Regions from separate parts of the Homo sapiens genome. Here regions 2, 3 and 4 are each linked to region 1. Evidence: promoter capture Hi-C in 16 types of primary human blood cells and fetal thymus (Javierre and others, 2016). All regions are on one chromosome and are shown on one strand. The core of a region is centred on a gene start or on the middle of the fragment in contact, and the rest is flanking DNA. Distances in the headings are between cores, read along the strand shown.

Region 1 (3,048 bases), core at 410-2,909:
ATTTGAGTGCCCATTATGGATTAGGCTTGGGTACATAGTGGTGTGATAAAGTCTCTATCCTTGTGGAGTTTAAAATGTAGTTCAACTTGTTTCTCCTCCTTTATCGCTAAAATACAGATTCTAGCCATCAGTGGTGCTATGGTCACCATGAAATTCAGGCTACAGAAATTCCTTTGGAAATGTCTGATTTAGACATTTATCACTTTCAGATGTTTTAGCCATGAAAGAATCTCATGGATTTATTGAAGAAATATGCTATGGTCAAGGACAAGGTATTGGCTCTAGAAGCCAAATTACTAGTCTTTATCCTGGCTTTTTATTTGTGAGAACATGGAGAGTTGTTTCAACCCTAGGAACCTTGATTTACTCTTTAAAACAGAGAAAATGGGCTGGGCGTGGTGGCTCACGCCTGTAATCCCAGCACTTTGGGAGGCTAGAGAGTCAGATCAGTTGAAGTCAGGAGTTTGAGACCAGCCTGGCCAGCATGGTGAAACCCCGTCTCTATTAAAATTACAAAGATTAGCTGGGCCTGGTGGCACATGCCTGTAATTTTAGCTACTCGGGAGGCCAAGGCAGGAGAATCTCTTGAACCAGGAGGTGGAGGTTGCAGTGAGTCGAGATCCCACCATTCCACTCCAGTCTGGGCGACAGAGACTCAAAAAAAAAAAAAAAAAAAGAGCAGAGAAAATGATAAACAACTTGCAGGTTGTTGTGTGGTATAATGGTCATTCATTATTTTCTACTCTTTCTGGTAAAGAGTTGGTGTGTCATGGAAAGTACCTGTTCTATGTGTGTGTGTCTGTGTGTATAATTCGGTGTGAAAATTAAAGAGAAAAAAACAATAAAAAACCCTTTCCTATACTTATGTGTAAATTACCATGGTGTGCTGCAAAAAACATATGTCAAGGTGATAGAATTATTTTGACTTTCCTGTACAGTTATAAAATGACTCAGTGAGTTTGGTTAGATATCCTCGTTCTTTGAATCTATATCCTTGTCTGCTTATGATGAAAAAAAAGAAAAAAAAATAATGGCGAGGGTCTTCCAAACTCTAAAGAATATGTCAACTATGATACAAGTAGCAGTTAGCCTTATAACTAACTGTAAACACTGTCTGTGGGTTTTAAGTTTTACCTGAGCATTGGATATTAACAGACCATTAGCCCAACTTTCAAAAATATGAACCCTATGAACTTCACAACTGAAGTCAGATCTGTATGCCTGAGAGAGGTAAAATCATGTCATGAAATCAAACGGTGGCTGATGCGCCCAAATTCTGGCCTCATCCTCTAACTGGAGGACATCTGGCAGGACAGCAACTGGGCTGTGCCTTTTTTCAGTCCAGCAACATCTTCCACTCAACCCACGCCATTTGGCTGTTTCCCCATTGCCCCTGGCACCTAGCCCTCCGGTACCGGGAACTAAATATCTTTGACCATCCCGCCCGCGGGGTCTGCCTACTTAACCTGAGGCAGGTGAAAGAGCCTCACGCAGGGTTAGGAACCTCCGGGGGCGTGGCGTAGCGTAACGCAGTGTTGGGGAAACTTGCGGCTGTGGATTGGGGGACCGGAAAGGGAGGGGTGGGCCGCAGGCGCCGGACGTGACGTAAGCCGGAAGCGACTTTCCGCCGAGAAATAGGGGGCGCGTGTTTGGAAATTGATAGAAAAGATAAAGGGACCGAGCTGCTGTCAGCCTGGCTTACTGATCTGCGTCCGTTTCACCACGGATTCAGTTACTAAGCATTTTTTTCTTTTTTTGGTTCTTTGCAACGTGAGTGGCATTGGCTCAGTGATTTCCATGAGCATCTCTACCAGAAAACATTGCCTCGATGAGGTGTGGTGGAAGCCCGGCAGCCCCTTCTAATCGGCTAGGCTTGAGAAAGCGTGTACCTCTGCATTTCCGAAATTAACTCAGCGTGATCGGCAAGATTTTCCTCAGCATCTGGTGTCAAGACACTCGTCACTATTAATTCGGAAAGAAAAAAAAAAACAAAACACCGTTTTCCAGCATTTCTCTTGGTGGAGAACTAAACAACAGGAAAAATGTCTATTTTCCCTAAGATATCTTTGAGACCTGAGGTTGAAAACTATCTTAAGGAAGGCTTTATGAATAAGGAGGTAGGTCAAGTAAAGATGTTAGTTGATATTTTGCAAAAACTCAAATATTCGCACACTCGAGAGAAATAGAAATAAGTATAAAGGGAAATCTTGACAGCCGTCGTTCCTTACTACTTGTCTATCAAGTGTAAAAATACCAATATGTTTCTACAGGTATTAAAGCTTACTGAGATACGAAGTGAATAAGGTATATGTTTTAACATTTAGGAGTGGAAAAGAAGGGAAAAAAGGCATGTGCCTGTCAGGCATGGCACAAAGGGTTACAAGGATGAACAAGAAAAGGTCCCTGTCTTCAAGAACTCGAATCGAATTTTAAAAGAGCGCTGGCTCTGGCACTCAGGTGAAAAGGTTTCTGTAATTTGTTGAGTGCCTCTTAAATGCCAGCAGTTGTGCTAGGAGATTTGCATCTTTAATCTTCACAATCTTTTTTTTCTTAGAGGTTTTTCCTCTTTTAATAGACTTGAGCAGAAAACTGCTCAAGGAATTGTGTAACTGATCCAAGTTGACACAGCTATCAAGTAACTATTGAAATCTGGAGGGAAAGAGTTCAGGTGTAATGAACAAAGGTACAGCTTTTGAATCTCAGGCACATGATTTGCATTCTAGTGCTTTGTAAATTACGTGGCTTAACCTAGATTTTTCTCTTCTGTGAAAAATTGAGAATGGTTAAAAATATCTTGCCAGGTTGTTTTAGGATATTAAACGTAAGTGAATACAACTAGCATTGTTTTGGCATGTAAGTCCTCAAAAAATGTTAATTTTATTTGCTAAAGTCCTCAGTAAATGTTGATTATCTTTGATTGCAAAGCCTGTTGTCTATTCCATTTTACCATGCTGCCTCTAAGCAACTTTGTTTTTTTTCAAATCTTTAATTTTTTAGTCAAGTTAAAAATATTTTACCAGGTTGTTTTAGGATATTAAACGTAAATGA
Region 2 (3,048 bases), core at 299-2,798, 4.1 Mb before region 1:
GCAAGCTCAGAGCAGCCACAGTTCTTCAGTCTTTATTTTTCTCTTCGTCGGGAATGTTTTTCCCTCTTTTATTTATTTATTTTTTTATTTGAGACAAGGTCTCGCTCTGTTACCTGGGCTGGAGTGCAGTGGCATGGTCATAGCTCACTGCAGCCTTGAAGTCCTGGGCTCAAGCAATCCTCCTGCCTCAGCCTCCTATGTAGCTGGGACTACAGGTGTGCACCACCATGCCTGGATAATTTTTATAATTTTTGTAAGAGATGGGGGGTCTCGCTGTGTTGCCCAGGCTGGTCTTCAACTCTTGGCCTCAAGTAATCCTCCTGCCTCAGCCTCCCTAGGTGCTGGGATTAGAGGCATGAACCACCATGCCCAGCCTGCCCTCAGATCTTTGGATGGTTGGCTCCTATTAGTTATTTTAGTCTCTTAGCTAAGGGGTTGCCTTCTCAGATGGCCTCTCTGACCTCCTAAGCTAAGGGAGCCCCTCCACTATCATACTGTTATTTTCTCTGTGACACTTAACACTGTTTGAAACTGAGTTGTGTACATTTTTATTGCTTATCTCCCTCAACTAGAACAATAAGTTTCATAGCAACTGAGACTTTTTCCTATTTACTAGGTGTATCCCTGCATCTAGAACAGTGTGTTTAGATAGTAGGTGCTCAGTACATATTGTTGAATGAATGAGTGGGGCTGGGATTCTAAACCGTAGGCCATTAGTTCTCAGGTGGTATACCATGAGGCCTCCCATATTCAATTTTCATAAACATAGAAAGTTGACTTTTGTTATAATCAAGCATAGAGCATTTTAGAGCATTTTGCTGAGCGGGTTGTGCAGTGTGTTAGAGAGTGGGGAAAAACTTGCTGCAAATTGGTGATAAGAGGTATGGGGTAACTGCAAGCCAGTGCCAAAGAAAGAGGTTATGTTTACAGCAGCATGCAAGAACTGTGTCTTGTGAACACGACAGAAAAGGTTCAGAAAGTAAACAACTTCTTTCAAACAGTGTCAGATGTTGAAGGGCCGCCAAGTGAACTGCGTGAAGACTATGAATGCATTTCTAAGTAATCTGAGATATTATGTTAGAAGAGTGTGCTGCAGTGTTATTACTGACTTGTTCTTTTAATGGCTTCAGACATGCCTCTAAAAATTGTAGTATTCAGAAGTGTACCATAAGTTAAATTTAAGATTGCATAAACATTGTAAGAATAGGGATAATGTCAGTATCTCAGTCCTTTGTGGGTCTTTTTCTATTGTGTATTGTTTCTGCTGGTTCTTCTTCATGGTGCCTTGTTGCCATTTATGTTTGGTTCATTTTGGCTCTGAGCTGCTCACTTCCTTGGATAGTCATTCAGGGAACATTCTTCAAGTCTTAAGATAAAGATGTATCCTTCCAGAGAGAATTGTTTGTTTTTGCCACATGGCTAGGGATACTGGAGACCAAGACCATTTGAAACTAAATTCACAGCTTGGAATTTTTTGGACCTCATGGTGATATAAAATTGGGCTGCAGTCCCTGGGGTGGCATGGTTTTATTTTTGGTAGACCCATTGTAGCCTTATGGAGAAAAGGTTTCCTATTAGACTTCACACCTTGGGTGGGCCCTAGTCTTTGTCTTCTGTTCCTGTCAACCCATGAGGCCATCAAAGCCCTTAGAGCCAAAGTGGCTTCCATGACTAACTTATTCTTCCTGCTTCCAGTTTTCACTAAGATCTTGACAGGCCGACTTCTCTCCTCCCTCTTCCAACTCTTTCATGCCTTCAAGAAGATGTTTAAGAACATATTTTATTCAGGACGCTTACTTATTTTCAGTGCAGAGCTGACCTGAATAACCCTGTCAGCAGAAATGCAAATCAACCTCAAAGTTTCAAAAGAGGGAATCCAACAGTAAGTGAGACAGTGAGAAGCCAAAGCATGGTGGCACTTCTGCAGCCTTCCAGGGATGGATCTGTGAGGGGAGTCAGTGGGACAGGAGGTGGGACTGCAAGAAGGAAGAATGCCATTTCTGTCTTCCAGAGGTGATGGGAACCTGAGCTTGGGCAGGGGTAACAGACATTGTTGGATAACCAGGTATAGATGTGGTAGAAGCTGTGTTGTCTAAGTGGCCCATAGCCTAAAAGGTTTGAAGATACTGCTGTAAACAAGCAGACAAAGGATGTGCTTAGAGAGATTTCAGGTAGAATCAGCTGGATTTGGTGACTGTTAGGTAACAGGAAGGAATCGACAGTGACTCACCTAGGTCATTTTCTTACCATTCACACTCTCCATTACATTATTGTTATTTGGGGGCTGTTAGCTTCTGGCGGGATACCCCTGCCCCTCTTGCCACAACTGGGATTGTACACACAGATACTGTGAGACAGAAGAGGATTAATAAACTGCCCTGGGAGAGTTAGTGGTAGGCTCTTGAAATTCTTCAAGAATTGAATTAGCGTGGTGGATGGAGAAGCTGGAGAAAACATGTTACAGGCAGAGTAATGCATAGAAAAGCATAAAGGGTATGTGGCATTTCCAGGGAACTGCCAAACCCTTCTTCAGGTGCTTCTATACTTCTCTCCTTCTGATTTTATGGTTTTATTCATTTCCATTCTTATGGACATGTTCTTATTTAAATTACTTTTGTTTGTGTTTCTGTAGGCTTGGTCATTTAGGCTTAGAAACATATTTGCAAGTTGCTAGACACCCTAACATTCAGAGCTTAGTTTATTTGTAGTTGTAATAAATAAGCCTTGCTTTTGTTTTTTCAGCCTGGACTTTGAGGAAGGTGTTAGGTATTAGTCAACCCGAGAATGACCTCTGTAGCATTCTACATGACCTGCACAAAGGCTCCAGGTGGTAGGGGCAGGTGGGGGCTGACGTCAGTATTGCCACCTGCACACCATAGCAAGGGGCTGCATTAGCGGGAGACAGGCACCCTTTTTGTGAGTTGTCCGCACAGAGGAGGCTCATTTTCTGATGTGCACAGAGGTGCCTGTGTGCTAGCAGCTGCCCTGGTTTGCCTTGCTTTTCTCGGGTCATGCATCCAAAATTTCTCATGTCACGTTCCCAAGCAC
Region 3 (3,048 bases), core at 221-2,720, 3.7 Mb after region 1:
ACGAGGTTTTCCCATGTTGGTCAGGCTGGTCTCGAATTCCCGACCTCAGGTGATCCGCCTGCCTCAGCCTCCCAAAGTGCTGGGATTACAGGGGTGAGCCACCACGCCCGGCCTCGGGCACGTTATTTTAAAAACACACCATCTCGGCGCGGTGGCTCACTCCTATAATCCCAGCACTTTGGGAGACCGAGGCGGGTGGATCACGAGGTCAGGAGATCGAGACCATCCTGGCCAACAAAGTGAAACCCCGTCTCTACTAAAAATACAAAAAATTAGCCGGGCATCGTGGCGGGCACCTGTGGTCCCAGCTACTCGGGAGGCTGAGGCAGGAGAATGGCGTGAACCCGGGAGGCGGAGCTTGCAGTGAGCCGAGATCCCGCCACTGCACTCCAGCCTGGGCTACAGAGCGAGACTCCGTCTCAAAAAACTAAAACAAAAATAAAAACAAAAAACACCATCTCAACTCCCTGACAATCTAAAGTTGGAACAGAAGCTTCTGATGTAGCCAGCCACCCAAATTCCCTTTTCACTTCCCTTTCACTCTGAAAAGCGCTTTTACTTTTAGTAGTATTAAAACTTCAAGAGCATTAGCCTCCCTAATAGTCCCTTTTATTCCTCCTATTAGATTATTTCTGTTCTTAAGAGGCAGCAGGAGGAGCCCTGTAACCAGCACGTAACCTTAGGCAAGGCCATGAACACGCCTGCGCCTGTTTCCTAACTTAAAGAGAAGCATTAGCCGGTCTCTAAGGTCCTGGAACTCCCGTCTGCTGTCGCTGGGCGTTCATTTGAAAGACAAAAGCGGTTCCGAAAGCACGCCCGGCGGTCCCTGCTCTGGGAGTGCTGACCTGCCTGTGTGCAGCACAAAACCGCTCCCTTCCGGCCCTCACAGCTAACCTGCAGTCCCCATCCCTCCAGCTTCCTTTCTGCCATAAATCACTAACTGTGTGGGAGATGAAATCCGCCTGGTGAAGGCTGGGACGGACAAAACACAGTATTCCAAAATCTAGGGCCCAAATCGGAGCCCTCGGAGACGCGGCCCCTAAAGCCAATGGGGTCCGGGGCGGCCCGGAAACTTCCGGGAGAACCGGACCCTGAGATTCTGGAAGGGCCAAATAGTGACCCTCTTCCCTAAAAATCACGGAAGAGACATGAAAACCACGGGATCTCCCTGGCAAACCTCAGGAGACAGCAGAGAACTGCGGAGCCGAGAAGGCGGGGCAAGAACTTCCGGGGTGGGGCTACGGCCGGGGCGCAGGGGTTGGCGGGCAGGGCCCTCGCCTCCAGCGACGCATCCACCCACCCCTGGGTCCGGCTCTACTGGGTTATCCTCGTTCCGCCGAGCAGGAGAGGCCGGGGGCGCCCGGGAGCTTGCAGGCGGGCGTGGGTGCTTGCGTTCTCTACTCGGGATCCGCGAGCAGGGCCAGCGAGAGGCCAAGTGTTGTGCCCTTCGCGACCCTCGCGTCTCTTAGTAACGCGATGAAGCTGCAGGAGCTCCCGGCTCCTTCAGGCCCCGCCCAGCTAGCTCAGGCCCCGCCCCCGGGAGTGGGCTTTTATGCGCATGCGCGAGGGCTGGGGTGGGCGCCGGCCCATCTTACTAAGCCAATGTAGGTCCCAGGTAGGAGCGCTGCCAGGGCTCACCCCTGAGCAGAGATGGAGGGCGAAAAAGGGTTACTTGCCGCTACTTGAATCCCAGACAAAATTCCCTGTGAAAGCGGATCACAGCACGGAGACTGTGTTTGTAGTTCCTGATAGTAGATATCTCCTATCTATTCATTTGCGAGGAATGAACCATTCCAGAGAGTCGCCATAGTGCCTGACAATCAGTAAACCTACAATAGATGATATCTATAGCTTTAATTATTTTTTCTAGCATTATCTATTACTATATTACAGTACTATCTAAGCGAAAAGTGATCAGATTCAAGATATACGGTTTTTTGTTTTTTTGTTTTTGTTTTTTTTTAGACGGAGTCTCGCTCCGTCGCCCAGGCTGGAGTGCAGTGGTGCTATCTCGGCTCACTGCAAGCTCCGCCTCCCGGGTTCACGCCATTCTCCTGCCTCAGCCTCCCGAGTAGCTGGGACTACAGGCACCCACCACCACGCCTGGCTAATTTTTTGTATTTTTAGTAGAGACGGGGTTTCACCGTGTTAGCCAGGATGATCTCGATCTCCTGACCTCGTCATCCACCCGCCTCGGCCTCCCAAAGAGCTGGGATTACAGGCGTGAGCCACCGCGCCCGGCCAATTTACATGTTTTGAATGTAGAGCCATCAGGACTTGTCAAATTGTTGAATGAAAGAAAGGAGCAATTGTGTGCTGGAGCCAGCTCATTAGAGCTCTGGAGACTCAGTAATTAAATTTTTAGGAATTTTTCTGAGCTCGTTGTTAAATACAAGCCATGAGCTGGAGTCAATGAAGATGACAAGGGCCTCGGGCACCTGCCCCAAACAAAACAAAAACACAAGACATATCACAAATTAAATTATATAAACTTCTAAATAAACGAGTCATACTAAAACAAAGGCAATACTTAGTAAAACTAAAAACAAAAAACTATTTACTTACAACTCCCAAATTTCTCTCTTCAGCCCGGTCTTTCTCTGAACTTTAGATTTGTATATCAATGTATATTCAACATCCACTTGATTGTACAAAACAACCTCCCCAAACACCTCCCTGCCAAAACAAAAACAAAAACCCTGCTCCTTCTTCATGTCTTTTAGTAGATGTGGCCTAGAGCCCTCTCTTTCCATATCCATCAATGCAACCTGCTGACTTTATAGCTTCTACTCAAGCCATCATAATTTTTCTTTTTTCTGGTAATTACAACCGTTCCCAACAGCTCTCTATGCCCCCTCTGTAGTCTGTTGTCAACACAACAGTCAATGCAATCTGTTTAAAACCTAAGTCAAGGCCGGGCGCGGTGGCTCACACCTGTAATCCCAGCACTTTGGGAGGCTGAGGTGGGCAGATCACGAGGTCAGGAGTTCGAGACCAGCCTGGCCAATATGGTGAAACCCTTTCTCTACTAAAAATACAAAAGAACTA
Region 4 (3,048 bases), core at 262-2,761, 3.5 Mb after region 1:
TTCACAGAGGTGACATGTGACATTTTGCCTCAGAAATAGTTGCCGTTGTTAAAGGCAATATTGTATTTCCTTTTGTGTTTTGACCCCATTTGCCCTTCTTACAGAATTTTAGTTGTCTCAATGCCAAACAGCTGACGGGCTTTGAAATCGCTCTGCAGTTTTCATCTTTTGATACTTCTAGCTCATTGCGTTTTAAAAACATAGTCTCCCTTGGGGAAAAAAGCCATAAAATGCTCCTAGTATCTTCTGCAAAAAAAGGACCCACACCAAAAAATTCAGGTGGCTCTTTAAAGTCTCATTTTCCTCACTGAGCGGGTTCTGATGATTATCTTTGCAAAACCACTGCGGAGACTTCCGGTGGCCTAGCAGCACATTTGAACAAGATCATCTCAGCAAAGCAAAGGACAGGACTGCTCTGTACAGAATGCAGTAGCAAATAAGAGAGGCTGAACTTCACCGGTCTTCTATTTGGCAGTACTACAGAATGCCTCCCTTCCCTCTTCTGAGAGAGACAGCGGACAATTTCAGCACAGAAGGCCGTGCACGTTTGCTTGGAAATCTAGGTCATGACCTTGACTTTGGGAAAGCCAGGGTAGCCTACCTGAAACTGTCCAATCCCCCAGCATCGTGGACACGTCCCCAAGTCCCTCAAGATGTCTGTTCTGGTCTGAGCCGTCCGTAGTAGTGTCCAGGGAAAGCAGGGGTAGCTCAAAAATTTCTGTCAAGAGTTTTAGTGCTGCAAGCCTGGTTGGGACAGGGCGGTGGAGGGCTGGAAATACTGTTTTTGACTTTGAATTTGATTTTATAATGTATTAGATGGATAGATAGATGCGAAATGGAATTGTTAACATGTATGTGGAGGGGCGGGAAGAGTTTCTGGAAAGCCCCATCCCTGAGTGCCTACTCCTGAGTGGGAAAAACCCCTGCACGGGCTGGGAGCGCTCCCTAATTCGTCCAGAAGTAAAATCGCATGGCCTGTGTTCCAAAAATGCCGCCACTCAGGATGTCAAGTCTGCACGTTTGCAGCTTTGAGAGCCGAGCCCCAGGCAGAGGCACCGCGCAGGCCTGGATGTACAGGACTCGGCCCTGTGCAGGGCTGGCCAGGGTGAGCAGGGTTGGAGCTGGCGGGGCGGGGAGGGGCGGGGCCATCTGGGAGGGGCTGCGGCGGTGGGCGGGGTTAGAGGGCGGGTTTGAAGCCGGCAGGGTGGGGAAAGGCGGGGCTGGAGGGGAGGGGTCTCAGAGGCGGGCGGGGTTAGAGAGCTGGATTGAAGCCGGCGGGACGGGGAGAGGCGGGGCTTGGTGGGGAGGGACGAAGAGGTGGGCGGGGTTCAAGCCCGTGGGGCAGGGCGGGGCCGGCGGGCAGGGCGGGGCCGGCGGGCTGGGCGCGGACGGTGAGGGGCGGGGATGGAGGGCGGGGCGGGACGGAGGGCGGGGAGGGGGCGGGACGGAGGGCGGGACGGGGCGCGGGCGGGGCGGGGCGGGGCGTAGCGCCCGGGCTCCGACTCCAAGCAGTACGGCGGGAGGCACTAGAGGGAGCTGCGGCCGCTCCGGCCCGGCCCCGAGCACCGCCTCCCCAGCCAGCGCCGCCGCGATGGCGGAGGACAGCGAGTCTGCGGCCAGCCAGCAGAGCCTGGAACTGGACGACCAGGACACGTGCGGGATAGACGGGGACAATGAGGAGGAGACGGAGCACGCCAAAGGGTAGGGGCGGCGCGCTGGCGCACCGGGCGCGACAGGGCGGGGACCGCGCGCGCCACGGTCTCCCGTTCGGGGGTGGCTCCCAGGACTGGGGGTTCTTCGGCCGCTCCGCCCCGCGATGGCTTCTCCGTGGCGCGGAGCCCATGGTGAGGTCCGGGGCGCGCGGCTCGCGGGAGAGTGCAGTGCGCGGGGAGGCGAGGCCCGGGGTGGGCGGGGAGGCTGGGGCCCGGGCGGGGAGACGCTACTGTCACTTGCCGCGCGCCCCCGGCCAGCCTCGCCCATCCCCGCCGGCGGCCTGGCCCAGGAGGCGCCTGTTGCCCTCGCCCGCGGGTGGCTCCGGTGGGCGCCGAGGAGAGGCGCTACGCCCTTCCCTTTGTGGCGGCCGCAGCCTGGGGTAGGAGGTCGCCCTCCTCTGCTCCCTGCCATCCTTGTTAAGTCCCTTCAGACTCCCTCTCCGCAGCCGCCACCCGAAAAGAATGGGCAAAGACGTGGGTGGAGCGGCGTGGAGGTGCCCCGATGGTGTCGGGGCCGCAGGCGGCGAACTGCGCAAAGTTCTGGCGCCGAGGGGGTCCCGGGCCCGGCCCCTGCTGGGGATACTGGGCTTTGCACCGCCTCGCCTGTCCCTAGAGCTCTTCAGAGCAGGGCCGATCCCCTGAACCGGGCTCCCGCTGACCTGGCCGTATCCTGTTTGCAAAGCTGGTATTTGATCTCCAAAACTCGATGCACCACGCATTTTCACACTTGATCGGATTTCTTAATCCTTTCCCTTTGCCCCCGAACCCTGCAGACTTGATTTGCTCTTCTGTTGGAGAAAAGGATTGCTTCAGGTGAAGGCCGGTGTTGATGCTCTCTTTTTAGAGGCAGTGGGTCATTTTAAATAAAAACTGGTGTCCTTTTAAAGTGCTGTTTACATTACCCTTTTACCCTATTGGATTCAAACTATGCGCTGGCACAGAGCGGTTCTTGCTACACCCTTAGAAGTGAGATTTTTCGAACCATGGTGAGTGATGGAGAAGTGGGTCAGCTTAAAAAACATGATAGGGAGGCCTGAGTCACAGATGGTTTACTCAGTTCGTAGAGAGATTCTTGAAATGATTGATCATTGAAAGTGTAAATCATTTGCATTCTACTTGTCTACTTTAAGATTTATTATAGAAAGGGACTTTTGACTGACCTCTAATTCATTATAAAATATTAACAAATGAAGAAAAAGAAAAGCTGACTATGTGCATCTCCCATTTGCAAGTTGTTTTTATCTTTGCCGTGAATACTTCAGTGGCGGCTGCAAGTATCGAATGTTCGAGTCTAGAATATTTTTTTTTTTAAAGAGAGGAAAGGAAATTGCATAGG

The links. Contacts are between HindIII fragments. The CHiCAGO score rates a contact against its expected background, and 5 or more counts as called.
Region 2: a fragment that was not itself captured here is called in contact with the fragment with the promoter of NSUN6 in region 1 in 1 of 17 cell types (monocytes); the score reaches 7.8 in monocytes.
Region 3: a contact is called between the fragment with the promoter of MEIG1 here and the fragment with the promoter of NSUN6 in region 1, in 1 of 17 cell types (naive CD8 T cells). The highest score is 6.8, in naive CD8 T cells.
Region 4: the fragment with the promoter of NMT2 here is called in contact with the fragment with the promoter of NSUN6 in region 1 in 1 of 17 cell types (naive CD8 T cells); the score reaches 6.1 in naive CD8 T cells.

The regions. Positions count from the first base shown.
Region 1 is chr10:18,650,198-18,653,245 of GRCh38, reverse strand. It overlaps NSUN6 (NOP2/Sun RNA methyltransferase 6), which reads left to right and starts at 1,659. Exons shown (of 11, transcript NM_182543.5): 1 at 1,659-2,117. The coding sequence starts at 2,043. RefSeq lists an enhancer at 1,420-1,519. The HindIII fragment of the contact is 3,002 bases long and covers 1-2,281 here.
Region 2 is chr10:22,700,451-22,703,498 of GRCh38, reverse strand. All of the region lies in intron 1 of PIP4K2A (phosphatidylinositol-5-phosphate 4-kinase type 2 alpha), which reads left to right. Among named protein-coding and RNA genes, the nearest start is that of PIP4K2A, 13 kb to the left of the region's middle. RefSeq lists an enhancer at 2,943-3,002. The HindIII fragment of the contact is 3,898 bases long and covers 1-3,048 here.
Region 3 is chr10:14,957,810-14,960,857 of GRCh38, reverse strand. MEIG1 (meiosis/spermiogenesis associated 1) reads right to left here and starts at 1,470. Exons shown (of 3, transcript NM_001080836.3): 1 at 1,301-1,470. RefSeq lists a silencer at 1,198-1,247. The HindIII fragment of the contact is 3,683 bases long and covers 496-3,048 here.
Region 4 is chr10:15,167,156-15,170,203 of GRCh38, reverse strand. NMT2 (N-myristoyltransferase 2) reads left to right here and starts at 1,511. Exons shown (of 12, transcript NM_004808.3): 1 at 1,511-1,701. The coding sequence starts at 1,592. RefSeq lists a silencer at 1,312-2,141. The HindIII fragment of the contact is 10,106 bases long and covers 1-3,048 here.